Regions from separate parts of the Homo sapiens genome. Here region 2 is linked to region 1. Evidence: promoter capture Hi-C in 16 types of primary human blood cells and fetal thymus (Javierre and others, 2016). All regions are on one chromosome and are shown on one strand. Each heading gives the region's core, a stretch centred on a gene start or on the middle of the fragment in contact. The rest is flanking DNA. Distances are from core to core; before and after follow the strand shown. Region 1 holds the start of FAM199X (family with sequence similarity 199, X-linked). Region 2 overlaps TMSB15B-AS1 (TMSB15B antisense RNA 1).

Evidence for each region. Contacts are between HindIII fragments. The CHiCAGO score rates a contact against its expected background, and 5 or more counts as called.
Region 2: a contact is called between a fragment that was not itself captured here and the fragment with the promoter of FAM199X in region 1, in 1 of 17 cell types (total B cells). The highest score is 7.0, in total B cells.

Annotation. Positions count from the first base shown.
Region 1 is chrX:104,164,218-104,168,741 of GRCh38, reverse strand. FAM199X (family with sequence similarity 199, X-linked) reads right to left here and starts at 2,289. Exons shown (of 6, transcript NM_207318.4): 1 at 1,760-2,289. The coding sequence starts at 1,956. RefSeq lists an enhancer at 1,947-2,447 and a silencer at 2,012-2,501. The HindIII fragment of the contact is 4,401 bases long and covers 1,296-4,524 here.
Region 2 is chrX:103,906,178-103,910,623 of GRCh38, reverse strand. The region is part of intron 4 of TMSB15B-AS1 (TMSB15B antisense RNA 1); the gene reads left to right. It also overlaps the pseudogene ELF2P1. Among named protein-coding and RNA genes, the nearest start is that of TMSB15B-AS1, 11 kb to the left of the region's middle. The HindIII fragment of the contact is 174 bases long and covers 1,588-1,761 here.

The DNA.
Region 1 (4,524 bases), core at 1,040-3,539:
AAACGGGGAGGAGGAAGGAACAGAACAAGTTGTAAGAAACATATTATTCTCATAACTTCACTCCCCATCACCTCTACCCAGTTTTGGCAGTACTTACCCACAGCCTCTGCCCTCACTCCCTTGCCCTCATCATCACAGCAGGATCATTCTGAAATTATTTAACTTTCCTGGGTATGTGACTTGCTCCAAGGCTGCAAAACTTAAATGCCAAATATGTACAAAGGTATTCTTTTACATTATTTTTCAACATAAATAACCCTAAGCACACTTGATTTCATGAATATGTTACATTCACATTACAGTGACATCAGGGGTTAAATAGGCTTCTGTGAGTTGGTCTAGGAAACCATAAGTTCTATTTGTAACACTGGATCAATTAGTTCTGCTCCAAGTTTAATCATTGGCTTCAAAGGAATAGTCTTGGATTTGCTTGACTAGGTTTTATGACCTTGAACTCAATCTTTTCTTTCTGGGCCTGTTTCTTCATTTTTTGCAATGACGATTTAGAGTAGTCATAATAAATTTACTGCCACTTCCTTTTGAGATGTGTTATACTGATATTCTGATTATTTAACTATAACACCTTGTTTCCATAGACTATAACTTTCATTTATGTAAGAAACATCTTTTACACATTCCTTGTATCTGGTAGAAGCTCATTCAATCTACAGACTGATTTAAGGGAAGGGAGGGGAGAAATATGCTAAAGACATTAAAATATGGAAGAATTTGATCAAACTCACATCATAAACTTGGATCAGAAGTCAGAACTAGATTTCTTAATTTATCTCCAGTATTTTCCATAGCTGAACCCCTCTCCTAGAGCCTTAACCACACACCCCCCCAGCCCTTTGTATATGTATCTCAAATATCCACCTATGTTAAAACTTGAGGCTGTATCTAGAACGTCTTCAACCCACCCCCCAAGATTTGATCTAACACGTAAATGCTTGCATGAGAGAAGTCTCCAGAACACTACCTTCTACTGAAATCAGTTAGGAGGAGATACACCCTCTGAATAAATTTGTGTAAGTCAGTCCATCCTAAGCCTTACTCTGTCTCTTCAAAGGGGAAGGAAACCAAGGGATATGTCATATGAAGGAATCCTCCAGATTTAAGCTTACCAATTTTGGCAGAGCCTAAAGCGCTAAGGCAAACAGTTAATAAAGGAGGAGGAAAAAAAGAGAGAATCGACTAGTTTCCTAGCGCTCAACTAAAAAAAAAAATGGGGTAGGGGTGGTGGCGGCGGGGGGAACAGGACTGTGAGACAGATTAAAAATAGGGAAAATGAAGCTTCTAGCTTTAAATGTTCCACCTTTCAACGCCACTTTTCAAAAGATCTATGGATTGATCTTGAGCCATCCAAATTCCTCTACAGCGTACCGGAAATGGAAGGGGTTAAACTTTTGCAGATGGATGCAAACAGGGGCGTATCTAAAAATCAAGGGTGGGGGTTTGGGATTCGTAGGGTACAGATGGGGGGAGGGAAGGGAAGCAAGGGAGGGAGAAGGTAGGGAAGGGAGGAGTCGCTATAGCCAGAATATGAATGAGGAAAAGAGAGTAAAACGCCGGTCGAAAGGAAAATAGGAGGGCAGGGGTGAAAATAGGGAGGGGGGGCAGGGAAGGAGGCCGGGAATGAGCGCTGGTCGAAAGCAGGTGGGGGAGGGGGCGACTGGAAGCGCAGCCCGGGACGAAGGATCAGGAGCGGGGGGCGACCAGAAGTGGAAAATCCACCCCTGCCCTCAGGTGCAGTTCGTACCTGTTGGTGTGGAAGCGGTGGAGCGGGTCGGTGCGATGGCAGGAGGACAGCTGGCAGCCGAAGTCGCTGATGTCCAGGCAGCCCGGCTCCTCGCTCGGGCAGGTGCCCACCCCGCGAGGAGGTCCCAGGAGTGGGAAGGGCTCCTCGGGGGTTAGAAACTTCTCGTAGGAAGTGATGGCCGAGGCCTCGTCGGACATGGTTGGAGATGGCCTGGCTCGGGCTCCCTCTCTGGCCCTGGGCTGCTCCCGCGCCCGCCCCTGCCCCCACTCTAACCTGTCCGCAGTCGCCGACGCTCCGGGGTGTGCCCGTCGCAGCTCACTGGCAGGCTGGGCGTCGCGGCCCGCTGCTGCTTGCCGGGGTGCGGGGCCGCGCGAAGAGGCTGCTCGAGGCCACAGCGGCCCACCGGCCACCCAGTTAGCGCCCCGGTGGCCTCTGCAGCTTCCGCCGCCGCCAGACTCAGCCCGTCAGCGCAGCGCCGCCGCCCGGCCCGGCCAGGCCCGCCCCGCCCACTGCGCTCGCCGCTTGCGACTGCAGCAGTCTGCCCGGCGCCCGCAAGGAGGGGAAGGGCGGCGGGAAGCCACTCCCCGTGCCCCCTGCTGGACCGGAGGAGGAACTGAACCTCCGCCCGCCGCGGCCCCAAGCGGCCCGCCCCGCCCTCTACGCATCGAATCAGGGATTCAGGCCGCTAGAAAGGCTAGGCGCCTCTGGCCAACCTCCTCCTCCGCTTTCTCACTCGTACTCGACTACTAAGCAGGAACCGCAGTCCCAGAAAAGGGACTTGGCCAAGGTCACACTGCGGGTGCGTGAGAAAACATCCAGATGCCCTGGTTCCCAGCGCACTCTTTCATTCTGTCCCAATTCAACAAGTATTTATTGAGCTCCTGCAGTGTGTGCCCAGCACCGTGCAATGAGGTGTAGGAGAAATCGTCCAAGCAGGGAAAATAGTCCCTTCCTCACCCTTGATCACCTAACTCCAAGAACCCTACGCTGCAGCCACTCGCCTACTCAGAGCTGCTGGACACGTCGTACTCTTTTGTGCTTTGCGCCTTTTGCTCATAGGCACCCTGCTTGGAATGCCCTGCCATTTCTCCCCTGCTAATCCTTCAAACTCCAGCTCAAACGTTATCTCCTCAGTGAAGCCTTCCCTGACTCCCAAAGGAGACTAAGGCACACCTGCTAATTTGCCCCCTCCCTCCCGTAGAAAATATATTATGGAGCTTAACTTGTTCAACTTGAATCAACTTGTTAGGTGTTATATAGTGTACTTTGCTGTTTATCTCATCTCTCTTCTCTATATTCTGGGCAAGTGATTCCTGTTCTTGGATGCGTAAGATTAAAAAAAAATAGAGGAAACCCCAAGATTACTAATTTCTTACTTTGCCCAAAGAAGACAATTTTTAAAACTACCTAATATTATTTTATAAAAGGAAGCACATTTTCATATAAGAGCATAATTCTTCAATAAAAGCAATTCTTTGCATTAACTATATTTATGAAGAAACTACATTGATCCTTCAGGAAAGCATAGAACTTAAATAGGCGGAAAGGAGGGGAAAAATGAAAGAAGGCAGGAGGAAGAAGAGAAAGAGGGCAGGAGAAGTGGGGGGTTGTCACTAAAACAAGCCCCATTCAGTATTAAACTCTGTGCCTTGCCCTACCAATGCAACTTATAGTGAAAACAGCTTCTCCAACGTGCCTTTAAAATGTATACATTATCTTGCTTCAGTTACTTGGTTGTTTGACTGTTGAGCATGCCGGCTTTCTTTCATTGAGATTGCAAGAAGGTGTGTTGCATTGTGTATGTGGCTTTCAAAATGAATCATTCATTAATATCTAATGAGGCTGACCAATTTAAAACTTGTGGAAGTGAGGCTGATGATGGTTTGTTCTATGGTCCCTAATGCACCAATCCCCAGGGGTCTGAGGCCAGTGAGGCTGAATGGGCCATGGCTTAGTCCCCAAAAACAAGAGACTTGATTATCCAAATGAAACAAGAGTCAAGTGCTGCATGATAATGCAGGCACTCAGGTAATAGCACCAGGAACTGTTAATAAGAAGCTAACGAAATAGTCTATTTTATTTTATTTTATTTTATATTTTTTTGAGACAGAGTCTTGCTCTGTCGCTCAGGCTAGAGTGTATTGGGGCGATCTTGGCTAACTGCAACCCCCACCTCCCGGGTTCAAGCTATTCTCCTGCCTCAGCCTCCTGAGTAGCTGGGATTACAGGCATGTGCCACGACACCTGGCTATTTTTTGTATTTTTAGTAGAGACGGGTTTTGCCATGTTTGCCAGGCTGGTTTCGAACTCCTGACCTCAAGTGATTGACCCAACTCAGTCTCCTAAAGTGCTGGGATTACAGGTGGAGCTACTGTGCCTGGTGGTCTAATTTAAATATATATACCTTTTACACATACTATAAGAGGTGGGTGTTTTTTTAAAGCGGAGTCTAATGAGAGAGTCTGTGAGGTTTCTACAAGTATGTGTTTTACTTTTGTGTTTAAGCATATTCTGAAGTATCTGTATGACCACATGATAACTAACTGCTGCCACATGATTAGGACATGTATTTGAGTTTATTTTCACAATGAATTAGCATAAGATAATACTACTTTAATTGTCATGATCCTGTGAGAAGACAAATGAGGTGCACCTCATACTTGGCATCTTCCTAAACAAATGAAGGGTTGCAGTAGTCTGAAGAGAATAAAGTGATGGGAAAGTGGAGTCAACCCCAAGACATACTTACAAGCCGAAGGCCAAGA
Region 2 (4,446 bases), core at 425-2,924, 260 kb after region 1:
GTGTAAGTAGCAGACGAAGTCAAGTCTGACTAAATCATTAACATCGTTGGAAACCCCCGGCTGTGAGAGCACTTACCACTGTTTCAATAGTGCATGGTACACCTTTAATGGGACTATCACTGCCTACTCAACAGGCATCTGGCCAGACTCTTCTTGAAGTTGTCAGTGCAGTCATAAAAGGTTGAATCAGAATCCATGGAAAACCAGTAGAAAGATGATGTGGAGACTGCAACTGGTAGAAGAGAAACCAGCAGATGAAATAAGACAGTGACCCAAGTAGCGGTTGTCAGTGAGACTTCTGCTATTGCCTTTCGAGTAACTAACTATAAGAACAGAAATACTATTGACATGTGAGAAATAAAATGACAGGCCCACCATAGATTTCAGACTGTGAGTGGTAGTACTGACATAAACACTTGCAAGGGAAGTCATCAAGAAAAGTCAAAGAAGACTTTAAAACATTTTAATGCATATAAGAAAACAATGAAACTTACCGGAAATAAGTTATCTATCCCATGTGTCAATGAGAAATGAACTACATGCATTGAGATGCTGACAGAAACCTCCCTCTTACAGTAGGAAAACAACTGAACCCTTCAATAAGAAAAAGGATTGAAAGGGACCAGGCAGCACACTACTATCTCAAGTTATGCTAAGATTTGAAACACTGACATTCTGCAAGAGGTTATACAGTTTTCAGTGGGGAGGGGTTGGGATAGGTGATCTCATTGTTACACATAGCAACTTTTAATGCATTTTATATGCATATTAGCAAGTATTACTGTGTTCTCACACTACTCACTTAACTTGTGCTATGTGAAGGCTCTGCTAATACAGGTGTTTTTTAAAAAACTCTACAAAGACTTTATTTTTTAATGATGAAATTCTAATGATCTTATCACTAGATTCAAAATTAAAATGGGCTTATGGATATTGTTTTCTTAATTCGGTGGTGATTGGGACTTTCAAAGATGCTTTATCTAGGTTTCCTGTTAGGAAATCTAGAAAGAGTCATGATTTTAATCCCCCTATTAATTTTCTCAGTAATTAGTTGTCAAAAATGAAAATATTCATGAATGATGAGTACACAGAATACAGAAAACCTAGTGAAAAGCCTGAAAGAGAAAATAAATGAACAGCAGAGTCCTGTGGGAGTTCTATGCCGGTGCTACATTATCTGATTTTCCTCATAATTCACCAAGAAGAACCAGCGGAACTTCACCACCAAGGGGCTGCAGTTGGTGATGGTAACCTAGCGAATGACCTCAGTATTGTTCAGGATGCAGCCAAAATCCAGCTCCATCATCTCAAAGCTGAGGTTGGGGTAATGCACTCATCCATGCAGGTCCAGGCTGTCTACTGAGGGTGTTCCACATACTTAATTGCTAGAATTTCTTCTGCCACCCAGTTGTTCAGATCGTTTCTGTAGGAGGGTTCAAACTTGATCAGCAGGGTTTTTTTTTTCTTCATCAATTTCTAGTTTTATAGGCCACAAAGATAATGGGGGAAATTACCAACTTTTGTACTATGCATTTTCACCCAGTACAAGTATTTTAGAATGTGAATTGAAGAATGGATCCAAAAGCTTCAGAAAGTGGAAAGCACAAAAGAGAAAGAAAGAAAGAAAGAAGGAGAAAAGATCCACTGCAAATAAAAAAAATATGTATCATATGGCTTAAGTTGATTTAAAACAAAGGCCTTAAACTAATTTTTAGGGTTTTTTTTTCTTGAAATGAGCTAATGGCTTGTTTGTGTAAAGCTTTTCCATTAAAACAAAAAAATTTTTAAAATCTTGTACATAACACAGTATTGTTGTAGAATTCATATGAAACATTTTATATGGTAAAGTCAACTAGCTCCCTAATTGTGGACAAATTAACAGTTGGTTCCTGTTCTTTTGCTATAACATACTTGTGCCACCCATGTAGCCCTGGCATCTGTGCAGACACATCAGTTTCAGTTCCACTGTCACTTGGAAGATCAGGTTCAGCATCAGTTTTTGTCAGGTAGCTCTAATACCTGGAGTTTTCTTTCTTTTCTTTTTTACTTAGTTGAAGTTTAAGAGGAAAAGTACCAGTTTTCAGATTTGAACTATCATAGTTTGTATATTCAACAAACTATTTGAAGTATATTGTGTTTTGGTTTGCTCTTGTTTCAAAGTGTATCCAAGTAGGATTCCTGAAATATAGAAAAGAAACTTGTAAATAAATGAATGGCTGGTAAGTATCCAAAATTAGGGAGATAAATGATTCACTAAACTTAGGAAGCACACCTGGACACATCATAGTAAAGCTACAGCATAATGATAAACAAATATCATAATAGCATAAAATAGATACATTGCCTATAAACGAGTACAAAATAGACAGCAGGTATCTATACATCAACAAATGGAGGCCAAAAAGGAAAAAATAGCTGTCATGCTAGAGTTGCATTCCTAGCCAAACATCATTTAAGAAGTAAGCTGTGACAGACATGCAGGTAGATCGCCCCAAACCCCCTTCAAGGACAGATTTTCTGCTTCAGCTGCTGGGACAGCAGTTGGATGCCAGTCATCAGCCATCAGTTCCTTCAGGTATGACCCGAGCTGCAGGAGCTGCCTTGCCCAAGGTCACGCACTTGCAGAGACTGACCACATCCAAGGACTGATCCAAGAGGAGGCACAAACATCTGGCTTGCTCTGCCCAAGGTGGAATGATTCTGATGGGCCATTTTTACCTTCAGAGCTCCCCTTGGGATCCGAAGAGGCTTTGGTTGGGCCTGCAGTATGGATGCACTTCTCTCTGTGCCCACTCCTGCTTCCCTCCCTTCCATTCCTCAGGGGTTAATTCTAAGTAAATGTCATGCACACTAAAATCCATCTCAGAGTCTGTTTCCTGTGGATCCCAATCTGAAAAGACATTTCTAACTAGTAAAGTAGCAGTATTTACACCAGTGAACTTCACCTTCAAAGAACGCAGGAAGAACATACTTTAGGCGGATGGAAAGTGATCACAAAAAGATAATCTGAGATGCAAGAAGGAATGGTAATGGGCTACATTAGCAAACAGGAGTAACAAAAAAATCAGAGAATGTGCAGAACCGTTCTCATACTGACAAAACTTATTTTGGTGACTAAAGAAACTAGATAAGACTAAATAAAGCTACTATGCATCACTCAGATGATGGGAGAATCCAATGACAGCAGCTCACGCCCCTGGAAACATATTTGAATGTCAAAGAGCCAATCCTTTAAGATGGATCACAAGTGGCTAACTGGACCTAAATTCAAATGGAGCCAAGCGGCCATTTGCTGACTAGAGGTCACACATGTACTCTGAGTTCCCAGAAAACTCACACCTCTGTTCAACTTTGGGGCTTCCAGAGCACACCAGAACCAGCCAATCAGAGCTAGGCTCTATCAACAAATCAGGGATCAGCATCATTGACCAATCAGAGCTCAGCTGTGCAGGCCTATCAGAACTCAGTGATTTCAATCCTTCATTTGCATAAATGGGCTTTATTAGGGAGTTCAGAGGGAATGAACTTTAAACCCTACCACTCACTATTAAATCCTACCACTCCCTTCAATGCAATTGTTTTCACACCCAAGACAGCCTCTCCCAGGGTTGCCAAGTATTCACTGGCACAAGTGTTCTGTCCTCCAAATTCCTTTTCAGAGAACTTTTGTTCACACTCCTGTCTCCACTGGCTCAGCCAATGACGGAATTACAGTCTCTGAGCCACAGTCACTGGCCAAAAGTGTACAGAGGTGACCCAGGATGCCTCGGTTTGGATATGATTTGTTTGTCCCCACCCAAAAACATGTTGAAGTGTGATCCCCAATGCAGCTGATGTGGGCAGATCATGAGGGGCAGATCTCTCATGACTGGCTTGGTGCCATTCTTCCAGTAATGACTTAGCTCTCACTCTGGAGAAACTGGATTCATTCTCTTGGGAATGCGTTAGTTTCCTCCCCTCTAGAGAGGGTGTTACAAAGCCAGGACATCTCTTGGGTTCTCTTTACACCTGTCCTCTTCCTGTTTTACCTTATCTGCTATATTATGAGGCAGCACGGAAGCCCTCACAGGAGCCAGGGCCATTTCCCTGTGCTTCCCAGCCTACAGAACCATCCACTAAATAAACTGCTTTCCCTTATAAGTTACATAGCCTCGGACATTCTGTTATAGTGACACAAAATGGTTCAAGACACAGGATGAACCAAGAAGACCCTATCTGGGCTGTTCCTGCTGGGGCATAGAGGAGGAAATTGGTGTGTTTGTGTGCTATTTATTTGTTTGCTTGCGTGTTTTAATGATGGCGATTTGAGAATATTAATTCAGGGAATATATGGACATGACCCTTGCCTCCTCCATCCAATGAAGAGCAGGATTTGATTGCTACAATTTCAAGTAGGATTTGTGTACCCCAATTTGTAGAAAGGACTGTTTAGAAGTTTATGTGTGT